4 separate regions of the Homo sapiens genome follow, and all the other regions are linked to region 1. Evidence: promoter capture Hi-C in human tissues and cell types (Jung and others, 2019). All regions are on one chromosome and are shown on one strand. The core of a region is centred on a gene start or on the middle of the fragment in contact, and the rest is flanking DNA. Distances in the headings are between cores, read along the strand shown. Region 1 holds the start of IL12RB1 (interleukin 12 receptor subunit beta 1). Region 2 overlaps RPL18A (ribosomal protein L18a). Region 3 holds the start of PGPEP1 (pyroglutamyl-peptidase I). Region 4 holds the start of JAK3 (Janus kinase 3).

Region 1 (3,506 bases), core at 362-2,861:
TTACCCAGACTGGAGTGCAGTGGCACAATCACGATTCACTGCAGCCTCAACCTCCTGGGTTCAAGCCATTCTCCCACCTCAGCCTCCTGAGTAGCTGAGAATACAGATGTGTGCCACCACGACTGGCTAACTTTTAATTTATATATATATATATATTTTGAGATGGAGTGTCACTCTGTTGCCCAGGCTGGAGTGCAGTGGCGCGATCTCGGCTCACTGCAACCTCCACCTCCTGGGTTCAAGCGATTCTCCTGCCTCAGCCTCCTCAGTAGCTGGGATTACAGGTGCCTGCCACCACACCCGGTTAATTTTTGTATTTTCAGTAGAGACAGGGTTTCACCATTTTGGTCAGGCTGGTCTCAAACTCCTGACCTCGTGATCCACCTGCCTTGGCCTCCCAAAGTACTGGGATTACAGGCGTGAGCCACCGCGCCTGGCCTAATTCTTTATTTTTTATAGAGATGGGGTCTTGCTATGTTGTTTAGGTAGACCCAAACTCCTGGGGTCAAGTGATCCTCCCACCTCGACCTCTCAAAGTGCTGGGATTAGAGGGGTGAGCCCAGGTGCACAAGGCTGGAGCTTGGCATGTGGGGAGGTGGGCATTGTGGAGGGCCAGCATGCTGCAAGCTCTTTGTAACAATTTGTTGGAAGGATGAAATTAGGCCATCCAAGAACACTGCCCTCCTTCAGCTCTTGAGTCTCAGATTCAGAAGCTGGCGAGATGGCCCGGTGCGGTGGCTCACGCCTGTGATCCCAGAATTTTGGTAGGCCAAGGCGGACGGATCATTTGAACCCGGGAGTTTGAGACCAGCCTGGGCAACATGGCAAAACCCCCTCTCTTAAAAAAAAAAAAATGCAAAAATTAGCTGGGCGTGGTGGTGCATGCCTGTAGTCCCAGTTCCTGGGGAGGCTGAGGTAGGAGGATGGCCTGAGCCTGGGGAGGTTGATGTTGCAGTGAGCCGTGATTGCACCACTGCACTACAGCTGGGCCACAGATCAAGACCCTATCTCAAAAGAAGAAAAAAAGAATTTGGCAGCCAGGCACGGTAGCTCACGCCTGTCATCCCAGCACTTTGGGAGGCTGAGGTGGGTGGATCACTTAGGGTTAGGAGTTCGAGACCAGCCTGGCCAGCATGGTGAAACCCTGTCTCTACTAAAAATACAAAAATTAGCTCGATGTTGTGGCAGTTGCCTGTAATTCCAGCTACTCGGGAGGCTGAGGCAGGAGAATTGCTTGAACCCGGGAGGCAGAAGTTGCAGTGAGTGGAGATCATGCCACCACACTCCAGCCCGGGCGACAGAGCAGGGCTCCATCTCAAAAAAAAAAAAAAAAATTGGCTAGAGAGGGCCAGAGACCTGGCCAAGTGCATGGAACCACAGGTGGCCCATGGGCCCATGGGGCTGGCATCTGGGTGTTCAGTTCAGGTCTGGGGCCAGCAGGGCAGAACCCCCTAGAACCCTGACTTGCTCCAAAGTCAGACTTGCTCCAGAGTCTGTGGCCGCCACCATCACCACCACCACGGAGCTGACTTCCTGGGTTTCTCTTTCACTTTGACTTGCCTTAGGGATGGGCTGTGACACTTTACTTTTTTTCTTTTTTCTTTTTTTTCAGTCTTTTCTCCTTGCTCAGCTTCAATGTGTTCCGGAGTGGGGACGGGGTGGCTGAACCTCGCAGGTGGCAGAGAGGCTCCCCTGGGGCTGTGGGGCTCTACGTGGATCCGATGGAGCCGCTGGTGACCTGGGTGGTCCCCCTCCTCTTCCTCTTCCTGCTGTCCAGGCAGGGCGGTGAGTCCCCTGACCCTGGCATGGCGGCTCCTCTTGCTGGGTGGAGGCACGTGTATGTGTGGAGAGCTGTGGGCCTGCTGTGTGGGTTGGTTTCATCTCTCTGTGCCTCAGTCTTTCCTGCTGTCAAATGGGAGATGGGCAGTCATGGCTTCTGGGATCGAACTTAGACATCTTTCCTCTGGTCTAGATTTTCTCTTCTGTGAAATGCACTAAATTTTTTCCACCTCCCGGAGTTCAATGAGAAAAAAAACTAAGGAAGGAATAAAAAGCAAGTATGTATCTAATAGGTATACATAGTATAGTATCTTATGTATGTAGTTTACAATAGATAGACATACATAATATAATGTATACAGTCATTTCCATATTTACGGGGCAATGGTTCCAGGACCCTCTGCAGATACCAAAATCCAAAGATGCTCAAGTTCCTGATATAAAATGGTAAAGTATTTGCATATAACCTATGCACATCCTTCCGTATACTTTACTTATTTATTTATTTATTTATTTATTTATTTATTTATTTATTTATTTACTGAGGTAGGGTCTCACTCTGTGTCCCAGGCTGGAGTGCAGTGGCCTAATCATAACTCATTGCAGCCTTGACCACCTGGGCTCAAGTGATCCTCCTGCCTTAGCCCCTTGAGTAGCTGGGACTGCAGGTGCACACTACCATGCCTGGTTAATTTTTTTGGTGTATACTTTTTACAGAGACAGCGTCTCGCTGTGTTGCCCAGGCTGGTCTCGAACTCCTGGGCTCAAATGATCCACTCACCTTGGCCTCCCAAAGTGCTCAGATTACAGGCATGAGCCACCATGCCCAGCCTTCCCATATACTTTTAATAATCTCAGGCCCTGCACGGTGACTCACTCCTGAAAATCCAGCACTATGGGAGGCCAAGATGGGTGGATCACTTGAGGTCAGGAGTTCGAGACCAGCCTGGCTAACATGGTGAAACCCCATCTCTACTAAAAATGCAAAAATTAGCCAGGCTTGATGATGGGCACCTGTACTCCCAGCTACTTAGGAGCTGAGGTGGGAGGATCGCTTGAACCCAGGAGGCAGAGGTTGCAGTGAGCCGAGATTGCAGCACTGCATTCCAGCCTGTGTGGCAGAGCAAGACTCTATCTCAATAATAATAATAATAAATAAACTTTCCTTCTCTGTACACTGGGGATCAGCGGGGTGCTGACTTTTTCAATGGCTCTTGAGATGCACTGAGTGCCTGTAGAATGCCCACAGCAGTGCTGGCCACACCTCAAGGTCCCAGCGCCTTCAGGGGCCAGGCATGGCTGGAGACCAGCAGCAGGGAGGGGGCGAGAGGCAGCCCACGAGGTATCCTGGAGATAGTGGCAGTGAGTGGTCAGTCCAGGGAAAGGGAAGGAGGATGGGCTTTAGGCTCTCAGGGGTGGGTGGGTGGGTGGGGGTTCTGTGTCATCACAGAGAGAGATGGAAGGATGGAGAGCCTTGTGTGTTAAGCATCTTTCCCCCCTCAAGGTTGGACACTTGGGGCTGTTTCCTGGGGTGCCGCCTTCTCCCCCAAGGCTTCCAATCTGCCTGCAGGGCTCAGGACAGGTCCTTCTTGTGGGAGTGAGGGCGCCGGGGTCTTCCTGACCCATCCATGGTGGCATCCCCCTCCTTCTCTCACCCAGTTCCACACCTAGCAGACTGTGGCAATCCCAAAGGGCACGGGGATCCCAGTGGCTGAGGGAGGTCGCTG
Region 2 (3,061 bases), core at 198-2,697, 220 kb after region 1:
TGGTGGAGGAATCTGACTGAATGGAAGGATGGGGTTTGGCAGGGGGTGGGGGAATTCGGTGGTAGAGGGGCTTCTGGGCACATTTATGAGAGGCTGAGTGTGCCAAGGTAGGTGAATAGGTGCAGGCTAGTGATCTGGGAGCACATTCATCCTGTCAATGGCCCCTCAATAATGGGATTGGCCTCCATGTCTCAGCTGGTTGGGGCAGAGCTCTCCCAAGTGGTTCCCAGGCTGCTGCCACGTGGTTGAAGCCCTGGAGGGGCTCCAAGGCACAGGGAGGGGACTGAGGTGGAGATGAGGGTATGCAGTGGGCTTTGGTGGGGCCGTGAGCCTTCCACTCTCCTGATCTCTCATCCTCCAACTCACCTAATATCACCTCGCCTGCCCTGCAGCCTGGAGGGATCACCGCCCTCACTTTATACAGGAAGAAATGGCTCAGAGAGGGCAGGGACTTCCAGGCAGTTACGGCCTGAGTCCACAGTGCCACGCCCTGCTTCAGGCCCAGCTCAAGGTAAGGTAAGGTCACATCTAACAGAGCAGCTCCATTACAGCCTAAGCAGGACTCATGTCTCCTCCCCGTGTTCTAATCAAGGGGGTAGAAGGGTCAAGCCTCAGGGACGGGGGCAGCACTGCACAGGGTCAAGTACCGGAGATCCTTCTCCCTCACTGCTCCTGTGTGTTGCTTCTTCATAGTCCAAAATGACTGCTGCAGCACTGGCCATCATGTCCACACCAGCCAGAGGCGTTCTTTCTCAGAAATGGCACATCAGTACTGTATTTTTGTTTTGTTTGGTCTCGTCTTGTTTCCAGGCTGGAGTACAGTGGCATGATCATGGTTCACTGCAGCCTCAACCTCCAGGCTCAAGTGATTCTCACACCTCAGGCCCCCGTGTAGCTGGGACTACAGGTGTGCACCGCAACACCCAGCTAATGTTACTTGGTAAAGACAGGGTCTCACTATGTCTACCAGTCTGGTCTCAAACTCCTGGCCTCAAGTGATCCTCCTACCTCAGCCTCCCAAAGTGCTGAGATGACAGCCATGAGCCACACCTGGCCATAGCTATGGAGGTTAGGAAATGTATTTTCTTTTCTGGGTGGCACTTAAGTATGAAGATTCCCTTATGGAGAAAGGAGAGTTTGTACTAGAAACCACAAGATGAATGAAATTCAGGCAAAATTTTAAGATTTCCAGCTAGCACCCCCCATCCAATATACTCTAAGGAACATCAAAAGATATCCTGGGCTAGGCGGGGTGGCTCACACCTGTAATCCCAGCACTTTGGGAGGCCAAAGCAGGTGGCATGAGGTCGAGTTCCAGACTAGCCCGGCCCACATGGTGAAACCCCGTCTGTACTAAAAATACAAAAAATTTGCCAGGCGTGGTGGCAGGCACCTGTAATTCTAGCTACTCTGGAGGCTGAGGCAGGAGAATCCCTTGAACCTGGGAGGCAGAGGTTGCAGTGAGCTGAGACTGTGCCACTGCACTCCAGCATGGGCAACCAAGCGCGACTCCGTCTCAAAAAAAGAAAGATATCCTGGGAAAATGTATGACTCTTCTCAAGCTTTTGCCCCGCATATGTAAAGAGCTTTCACGAAACAAAAAGGATACCATGGAAAGTTGAGCCCCTCCTGGATACACTGGGTGACACACACAGCCCCTGCCCTCTCAGAACTAGTGGGGGATAGAAATCAAATATAGCCCAGTCCCGGGAACCCACGTGCAGTTTGTAAAACTCGAGTGAGGCCAGCCTGGGGGAATCTGTAGTATTCCAGGCAAGTGCGAAGGCCCTAGGGTGGGAAGGAGCCAGTTGTTGGGGACGGGACCCGTGGGGTTCTGTGGTCTACAGGGCTGTCCTCAGGCCTGGGTCTTACGCAGAATGGGTGCTTGTGTGCTGACCCTGCCCAGGTTCTGGGCGCCTCTCCAAGTTCCTGGGTGTTACAACACCCCACAGGTGAGGCTGGAAAAGGCCTGGTTTCCTGGAAACCACACAGCTCCTCCACAGGTAGAGGAAAGGCTGTGTCCTTGCCCTGAGTGTGGTGGTGCCCCTGTAGTCCCAGCTACTTGGGAGGCTGAGGCAGGAGGACCACTTGAGCCCAGGAGGTCGAGGCTACAGTAAGCCACGATCTCTCCACTGCACTCTAGCCAGGGCGACAGAGCAAGACCCTGTTTCAAAAAGCCGTAACTACTACCTAGTCCTGGCTTCCTCCTGGTCCTGGGCTCTCTGGGACAAAGGAGGGCCCCATAGGCTGACCCCAGCACCTGCACAGCGTCACTTCCCACATCAATGTGGAACCCGATGTTGAGATCAAGACAGCAAGCCCCAGAAGGGCCGCTGGCCCAGAACAGGGCTGCCCAAGGTCACGCAACAAAGGATGGGAGGCTCCCAGAGCCTGAGCTCTTGGCTGTGTCTCAAACTTCTCCAATGCCAGCTTAGCCTCCACCTGACAGAAGGACTCAGCCAGGGTGGGATTAGTGTCATGCCTGGAATTTTCCAGGCCTGAGGCAGTTTCCCAGAGATGAGTACCTGTGGTGAGTCCTTGACCTCCTTGGGCAAGATGAGGGCGTCATCTAAGAGGCCCCCAACCAGTGAAAGGGAAACAGCCCCCAAGCAGCAGAGAGCGCCCCTCGGGTGCCCACTTGTGTCTACTCTGAAAACTTTGGGAACCAGAGACTTAGGAGAATCCCCAGGGAGTGAACGCCAACCCCACTATCTAGGGAGATTCTCCCTGGTCCAGACTCAGCAGGGGAGCCTGGGAGGCCTGTGTCTCACAAGGCAGTTGGGACAGATTTAGGGCCCAGGACAGACAGTACCCCTGCAGCTCATAGCCCAGGGCTGCCAGCAGGGCTGAGAACTGACCAAGCAAGAGGGAGCTCAGGGGTGGGGGCGCCTGGAGGGCCCACTCCAGGACAGGAGGATGTGAGGGTTTGTTTGTTTGCACTGAAGACCCCTCCCAGGACAAAGAAATGGCAGCTCAGCTGCACCCCAGGAGCTGACTGGGCCGGCCTCTCATAGCACCCCTTTGAGCTCTGCAGTGTGCAAAGAAAACATGCGGCGAGCAC
Region 3 (3,529 bases), core at 1,030-3,529, 250 kb before region 1:
CCCCAAAAGGGCCAAATCCTGAAAAAACAGGAAAAGCAATATATTACCCAAGAGTGGCCCTTCCCAGTCTGCCCCTGGCCTGGCCGCTACTCCCACCTGGAGAAGCAAGAAAGGAGCTTCAGGGCGCAGCTGCCAAGGACAACATTGGGGGCCTGGTCCTGAGTTCTGGGAGCACCTGGAGGCCCGTCAGAGCCGCCGTCCTGCACCTGTCCGCTCTGAAGTCAATGAGTCCCTTCCTGTCTTCACCTCCACCTGCCCCTCATGCTCAGCCAGGGGCCAGAGGTATCTTCTGCCTCCGAAAAGGTCCTGATCCTGTCTTCACTTCCTCTGGTCCCCTTGACTCAACCTACAATTATTGTGTCACTGTCCCAAAATGCCCTGAATCGGCACCAAATGAGGAATGAGCCCTCCAGGCTGTCTAGATTTCACCTTGTCACCCTCCTCCCTGCTAGCTCAAACTCCAGGCCCCCTTTCCAAAACACGACAGTCGCCCAAGGCTGTGCTAAGTGATCTTCCTGGCATTAAGCCTGGCCACATCCCCTTTCAGGCAAGGGTGTTTCCTAGGCCCAGTTTCCAGGAGCAGGGACTGAGGCACAGAGAGGTGAAGCTAGCTGCCCAAGGTCACACAGCAAGAAGGTGAAAAAGCTGGGATTCAAATCCAGATCTGGGGCTGGGTGCGGTGGCTCATGCCTGTAATTCCAGCACTTTGGGAGGCCAAGGCGGGCGGATCACCTGAGGTCAGAAGTTTGAGACCAGCCTGGCCAACATGGTGAAACCCCGTTTCTACTAAAAATACAAAAAATTAACCAGATGGGGTGATGCGTGCCCGTAATTCCAGCTACTCAGGAGGCTGAGGCAGGAGAATCGCTTGAACCCAGGAGGCGAAGGTTGCAGTGAGCCGAGATCGCGCCGTTGTGCTCCAGCTTGGGCAACAAGAGCAAAACTCCGTCTCAAAAAAAAAAAAATACGGTCCATCTGGGCCAGTGATCCCACAGGATATGAATGCTATGCAGAGATGCTGTAGCCTGGGATAGCAGGTAGGGGCTGTGGCTCAGGAGGGGACCTCCTAACTCTATCCTTCTGTACAGCCAAAGTTTGAGTCTCAGCTCAGCCCCTTACAAACTGGATGACCTCTGTGAGCCTCAGTTTCCCTTTCTGCAAAATGGAGACAGTAAAGATGTAATCAGCTCATGCAAAAAGTGCTGGAATAAATAACCAGATAAAGGAAGGCTGGAAGGGATGGGGGCAGTGACCCTCCTCCCAATTATACACACCTGTTAAGCAGGTGCCTTGTTTCTTCCTTCTTCCCTGAATCTCCTGGATCAGCCTCAATCTCCCTTCAACAGCCACAAAACACCTGTGTGCACCTTTGCTGGATTTCCCACTCTGACCCCTCCAGACAGCAGGTCAAAATGACCCCCCCACTCCTTGACTCTGAGGCCCCAGCGGAAGTTGGCGCCCCACGTGGCCCCGAGGCGGAGTCTCAGGGAGGAGAAACAGTTGGTTTGGGGGTGGGGGGGAGTCGGTGACAGCAGGGGCCCTGACTCACCAACAAACAGCCCTGGCACAAAACACAAAAAGGTTTCCGCTGAAGACAGTCCCTGGGACAGCTGGGAGAGCCCGAGGTCCCCGGACCCCCACCTGCCCCTGCCTTGGGAGAGTAGCCCCCCAGGAGCGCAGGGCGCGGCGAGCAGTGACTGGGAGGTTCATTTGTCACTGGGACACTTCCTGCCCGCAAATCGGCCTTTGTCCCCTGGGGCCAGGGGTTGGGGGAGCGGTGTGGGGACAGGCTGGACCTCGGAAGGGGCAGGGAGGAAGGGTCCAGTCCAGCCCGCAGGCCAGACAGAGGAGGCAGGTGCCAGGAGGGTCACCATCCCCACCTTGGGAGGAAAGGACGCCAGGGGGGCCTGCGCAGCGCCGGGCTTTTGCCCGGCCCCCCAAGCCCCGCGCCCGACTGCCCTGACTCCCGACCCTGGGACCCCCAAGGCTCCTCCTCCTCCACTTTCCAGGAAGCCTGGGCTGCGCGGGGCTCCCGCGGGTGATGACACCTTCCAAATCTGAGAGGACTTCCAGCACCTGCCCCTCTCGGCCCCGCAGTCCCGGAGCCGCCCCCGCCTCTGCCCCCGGCCGCTGCCGCTACAGCCCCCATCAGCCAGCGTACCCGTCACTACCACCGCCTTCCTCGGCTGCTCCATGGCGGGATCGGGCTGTGCCTCGGACCTGCTTCTGTTGCGACTGGCGCGACAGCTGCTGCCGCTGCAGCCTCTCGGCCGCGCGAGGCCACGCCCCTGTCAAGCCCCCGGCCTCGCCCCCGGTCAGCCGCTCGGCGTGCGCGCCCCCGGGCCCGAGACGCAGCGTGCGCGCCCTGCGCCCCGCCCCCGTCGGCTAGGCCCGGTATTCCCCAGCCTCCGTTTCCCCGTCTGCAAAATGGGAACATCTTATGCCGTAGTGTGTAGCCGCTTGCACGCACTGAGCCAGGTGCTGGGGATGAGCCGGTCCTTTATTCTGCAAGGGTTCATTGAGGGCCTGCCCTATGCATGCATACTGCGCAGAATTAGGGAGGGAAGTCCCCGCGAGCAAGGCCCGTTTTCCAGATAAGGAAACTGAGGCACAGAATGCCACTTCCCCGAGGTCACTCGCCTCAAGGGGTCACAGGAGCAGCATTCAGGCCAGGAAGTTGGCGGGGGTGGGGGAGGACAGAGTAAAAAAGGAAAAACACGACAACCATATTTGTGTGGTGCCAGAAGTTTCTCTGCAGGCCCCCATGGTCCTAGGAGGCTAATGGGGGAGGGCGATTGTACCTGCTGTTCCCTCTGCCGGAACACACCCCGCAGGTACCTGCGAAGCTGGCCTCCTTCAGGCCTCAGCTCCAGTGTTCCAATGTCGCCTCCTCCCAGGGGCCCTCCTCCTGTCCTGGCTGTCACCTCCTCCGAGGGGTGAACTGTCACTTTCTCCTTGTGGCCTTCTCTGGCTATCACCTCCCTGCTATCCTATTACCTCCTCTGAGGGTTCCTTCTGGCCCTCCTTGGCTGAAATGACCTCACTGCTACCCCCCAGTGGTTCCATCTCATTCCCTGGTTCCATCCTCTTCATAGCAATAAAGCTCAGAAATAATTTCCTTTCTCTCTCTTTTTTTTGGAGACAGGGTCTCACTCTGTTACCCAGGCTGGAGTGCAGTGGCAAAATCATAGCTCTGTAACTTTGACCTCCAGGGCTCAACTGATCCTCACATCTCAGCCTCCTGAGTAGCTGGGACTACAGGTGTGTGGCACCACACCCAGCTAATTTTTGTATTTTTGTAGAGATGGGGGTTTCATAGTGTTGCACAGGCTGGTCTCGAACTCCCGAGCTCAAGCAATCCGCACACCTTGGCCTCCCAAAAGTGCTGGGATTACAGGTGTAAACCAGCACACCTGGCCAGAAATCATTTTTAATTTTTTTTAGCTTTTAAGTTTTGGGGTACATGTGCAGGTTTGTTATATAGATAAACTCGTGTCATGGGGTTTGTTGTACAGATTATTTAGTCCCC
Region 4 (3,549 bases), core at 813-3,312, 240 kb after region 1:
AGGCTGGAGTGCAGTGGCATGACCACAGCTAACTGCAGCCTCAACTTCCTGGGCTCAGGTGATCCTCCCACCTCAGCCTCCCCTAGTAGCTGGGACTACAGGCACATGCCACCACATCCAGCTTATTATTTTGTTGTTGTTGTATTTTTTGTAGAGACAGGGTTTCACCATGTTGCCCAGGCTGGTCTCGAACACCTGGGCTCAAGCCATCCTCCTGCCTGAGCCTCCCAAAGTGCTGAGATTACAGGTGTGAGCCACTGTTCTTGGCCACAACTTCTTAAATCTATTCCTTTTTTTTTTTTTGAGACAGAGTATTGCTCCGTCGCCCAGGCTGGAGTGCGGTGGCACAATCTCAGCTCACTACAACCTCCGCCTGCCTCCTGGGTTCCAGTGATTCTCCTGCCTCAGCCTCCCAAGTAGCTGGGATTACAGGCACATGCCACCACGCCCAGCTAATTTTTATATTTTTAGTAGAGATGGGGTTTCACCATGTTGGCCAGGCTGGTCTCGAACTCCTAGGCTCAAGCAATCTTCCCACCTGGGCCTTCCAAAGTGCTGGAATTACAGATGTGAGCCACTGTACCCGGTCACCACTTCGTCAGTCTATTCCTGAAGCTCTACTTCCGGGGCTCTGATCCTATTATCCTAAGAACACTGGCCCAAGTCTCTGCATTTGGATGCTGCCCGGGCCTTCTGCCTCTTCTATTTATAACAGCTCCTACTTCCAACTCTCCTGTGGCTCCAGATTATGCTCCAGGCAAAACCCACCCTTCTCCCAAAGACCCTGATCCCCCTGTCCCCCCACGATCTTGCCCCTGTTGACCGCCCTGCAGTCCCCTTCCCCCTCATCTCACCCCTGCCCCTGGCCTCCTGACTGCTCTTCAAGCTGCTAAGATCACTGCCCTCTCAAGGTCTTTGCCCATCCTGTGCCCTCCTCCTGGAGCACCCTTTCCCTGGCCAGCTCCCTGTCCTGCCTCGGGTCCAAGTTCCAGTCTGTGCCTGTCCTGACACCCTGGCTTTCTTTGTTGTCTGCGATGATTTGGCTCCTTCATTTGCTCATTGTCTCAGCGCCAGATCACAAGTTCCAAGAGGCCAGGCCGGATCCACCTGGTTTTTTAGGGCTGGGCCCAGGGCACCACAGGCAGAAATGGGTCATTATCTCTCCCTGAGTCTTTTCTTTTTTTTTTAAACGAAGTCCCGCTCTGTTGCCAGGCTGGAGTGCAGTGGCGCCATCTCGTCTCACTGTAACATCCGCCTCCTAGATTCAAGCAATCCTCCCACCTCAGCCTCCTGAGTAGCTAGGATTACAGGCATCACCAGGCCTGGCTAATTTTCCTGTTTTTAGTAGAGACAGGGTTTCATCATGTTGGCCAGGCTGGTCTCAAACTCCTGACTTCAAGTGATCCGCCCGCCTCAGCCTCCCAAAGTGCTGCGATTACAGGCCACCACGCCTGGCTAATTTTTGTATTTTTAGTAGAGACGGAGTTTCGCCATGTTGGCTAGGCTGGTCTCAAACTCCTGACCTCAAGTAATCGCCCGCCTCAGTCTCCCAAAGTGCTGGGATGACAGGCGTGAGCCACTGCGCCCAGCGTCTCCCTGAGTCTTAAGGGAGAAATACCTCAAAGAAGAACTTGACCTTCCTCTGGGGCAACTTCCCTGCTTCCCTCCTGGGCAAATCCAGCCAGGTTTCCTTCCCTGGGTGCAAAATTAGTTCCACTGGGTGCCCAACTCACACATGCTACAGATGGGTAAACTGAGGCAATAAGGGCCGGGCCAGAGCCCCACTTAACAAGTGGGTCTAGAGTCGGCTGAGCCCCTGGTGTGACCCAGACCCTTCTCTGTGCTATCATCAGTTCCTTTGGCTTAGGGGTCTCCAGCAGCCTGTCTGAACGGGGCGGCTGATGCAGAGGCTTCCGGAACTTTCTGCCCCTCCTTGCCCGCCTCCCCGCCCCCAGCTCCCGCAGGGCCCTGACTTTCGGTAAATGACAGTGGCTCAGGAAACCAAGGGGCCCACACAGGAAGGAGCCGAGTGGGACTTTCCTCTCGCTGCCTCCCGGCTCTGCCCGCCCTTCGAAAGTCCAGGGTCCCTGCCCGCTAGGTAAGAGCTGGCGATGCCGCAGGGCTCGGCCCAGACACTGGGGGAGGATGGTGGTGGCGGGGGATGGCTGGGCTGGGGCAGGGTGCTGCCAGGGCAAAGGCTAGCTCGCCTTCCAGGCCTCGGAGGAAAGCTGCGAGGCAGACGTGAGCCGAGACTCGCATCCTCCGATCGCTCGCTTCTCTGGGCTTCGGCTTTGACTAAGGCCGGGAGATGCCTGCCTTGCGGACCTGGAGGAGTCATTGCGCATGCGCGACGGGGGCTGCGGGGTTGGGGGTGGGGAGGAGGGATTGGGAAGGAGGGATTGGGGGGCGGAGTTCCCAGCCCCTACCCTCCAGGCCTTCCCGGTCCAGACACAGGGTACCCGACCATACCAGGATGCAGAACGTTGAGGATTATAAACAGGGGATGCCGAGGCGGGAGGATAGCTTGAGGCCAGGAGTTCAAGGCCAGCCTGGGCAACATAGCCAGACCTCCATTTCTACAAACATTTTTAAAAAACCAAAAAAACTATGGCGTTTTCTGGGACCAAACATCACCTCTGACTTTTCATTTTTTTTTGTTACAGTATTACAGAATAATAATATTCTGTTAAGATTTTTTTGTTGTTTTGGAGATGGGAGTCTTGCTATGTTGTTCAGGCAGGTCTCTAACCCCTGGCCTCAAGCTATCCTGCTGCCTCAGCCCCCTGAGTAGCTGGGATTGCAGTGGGGCGCCACTGCCACTGAAGCCTTATTTTAAACTCGACTGGGGCTGGGCACAGTGGCTCATGCCTTTAATCCCAACACTTTGGGAGGCTGAGGCCAGCGGATCACTGGAGGTCAGGAGTTCGAGATCAGCCTGGTCAACATGGTGAAACCCTATCTCTACTAAAAACACAAAAATTAGCCAGGTTTGGTGGCGGGTGCCTGTAATTCCAGCTACTCAGGAGGCTGAGGCAGGAGAATCGCTTGAACCTGGGAGGTGGAGTTTGCAGTGAGCCGAGATCATGCCACTGCACTCCAGCCTGGGAGACAGAACAAGAATCCGTCCTCCCCCCTACAAAATAAATAAATAAATAAAAAGGCTGGGCAATGTGGCTCACGTGTGTAATCACAGCACTTTGGGAGGCCAAGGCAGGCGAATCACCTGAGGCCAGGAGTTTGAGACCAGCCTGGCCAACATGGTGAAACTCCGTCTCTACTAAAAATACAAAAATTAGCTGGGCGCTGTGGTGCGCGCCTGTAATCCCAGCCACTTGGGAAGCTGAGGCATGAGAATCGCTTGAACCCAGGAGGCAGAGGCTACAGTGAGCCAAGATCGTGCGACTGCACTCCAGCCTGGGTGACAGTGCGAGACTCCGTCTCAAAAAAACAAACAAACAAACCAAAAAACTTGATTGGCTGATGTTGAGGGGACGATAGAGAGGCTATGGTGTGTGATTTTATTTCTATAAAGGGCAAAACTAGACATCA

Evidence for each region. The method cuts DNA at HindIII sites, captures the fragments that hold promoters and counts their contacts. A contact is called where the count stands out against the background at its distance.
Region 2: a contact is called between a fragment that was not itself captured here and the fragment with the promoter of IL12RB1 in region 1, in 4 of the 25 tissues and cell types used here (dorsolateral prefrontal cortex, lymphoblastoid cells, neural progenitor cells and 1 more).
Region 3: a contact is called between the fragment with the promoter of PGPEP1 here and the fragment with the promoter of IL12RB1 in region 1, in 6 of the 25 tissues and cell types used here (H1 embryonic stem cells, heart right ventricle, liver and 3 more).
Region 4: the fragment with the promoter of JAK3 here is called in contact with the fragment with the promoter of IL12RB1 in region 1 in 3 of the 25 tissues and cell types used here (dorsolateral prefrontal cortex, lymphoblastoid cells and spleen).

Annotation. Positions count from the first base shown.
Region 1 is chr19:18,085,039-18,088,544 of GRCh38, reverse strand. It overlaps IL12RB1 (interleukin 12 receptor subunit beta 1), which reads left to right and starts at 1,611. Exons shown (of 17, transcript NM_005535.3): 1 at 1,611-1,785. The coding sequence starts at 1,722. RefSeq lists enhancers at 1,280-1,339, 1,350-1,699. The HindIII fragment of the contact is 62,137 bases long and covers 1-3,506 here.
Region 2 is chr19:17,863,314-17,866,374 of GRCh38, reverse strand. RPL18A (ribosomal protein L18a) reads right to left here. Exons shown (of 5, transcript NM_000980.4): 5 at 3,056-3,061. Among named protein-coding and RNA genes, the nearest start is that of SNORA68, 2.3 kb to the right of the region's middle. RefSeq lists an enhancer at 1,360-1,499. The HindIII fragment of the contact is 9,841 bases long and covers 1-3,061 here.
Region 3 is chr19:18,339,348-18,342,876 of GRCh38, reverse strand. It overlaps PGPEP1 (pyroglutamyl-peptidase I), which reads right to left and starts at 2,279. Exons shown (of 5, transcript NM_017712.4): 1 at 2,162-2,279; 2 at 1-18. The coding sequence starts at 2,195. RefSeq lists an enhancer at 1,722-2,409 and a silencer at 2,241-2,430. The HindIII fragment of the contact is 61,917 bases long and covers 1-3,529 here.
Region 4 is chr19:17,846,495-17,850,043 of GRCh38, reverse strand. It overlaps JAK3 (Janus kinase 3), which reads left to right and starts at 2,062. Exons shown (of 24, transcript NM_000215.4): 1 at 2,062-2,098. The HindIII fragment of the contact is 13,300 bases long and covers 1-3,549 here.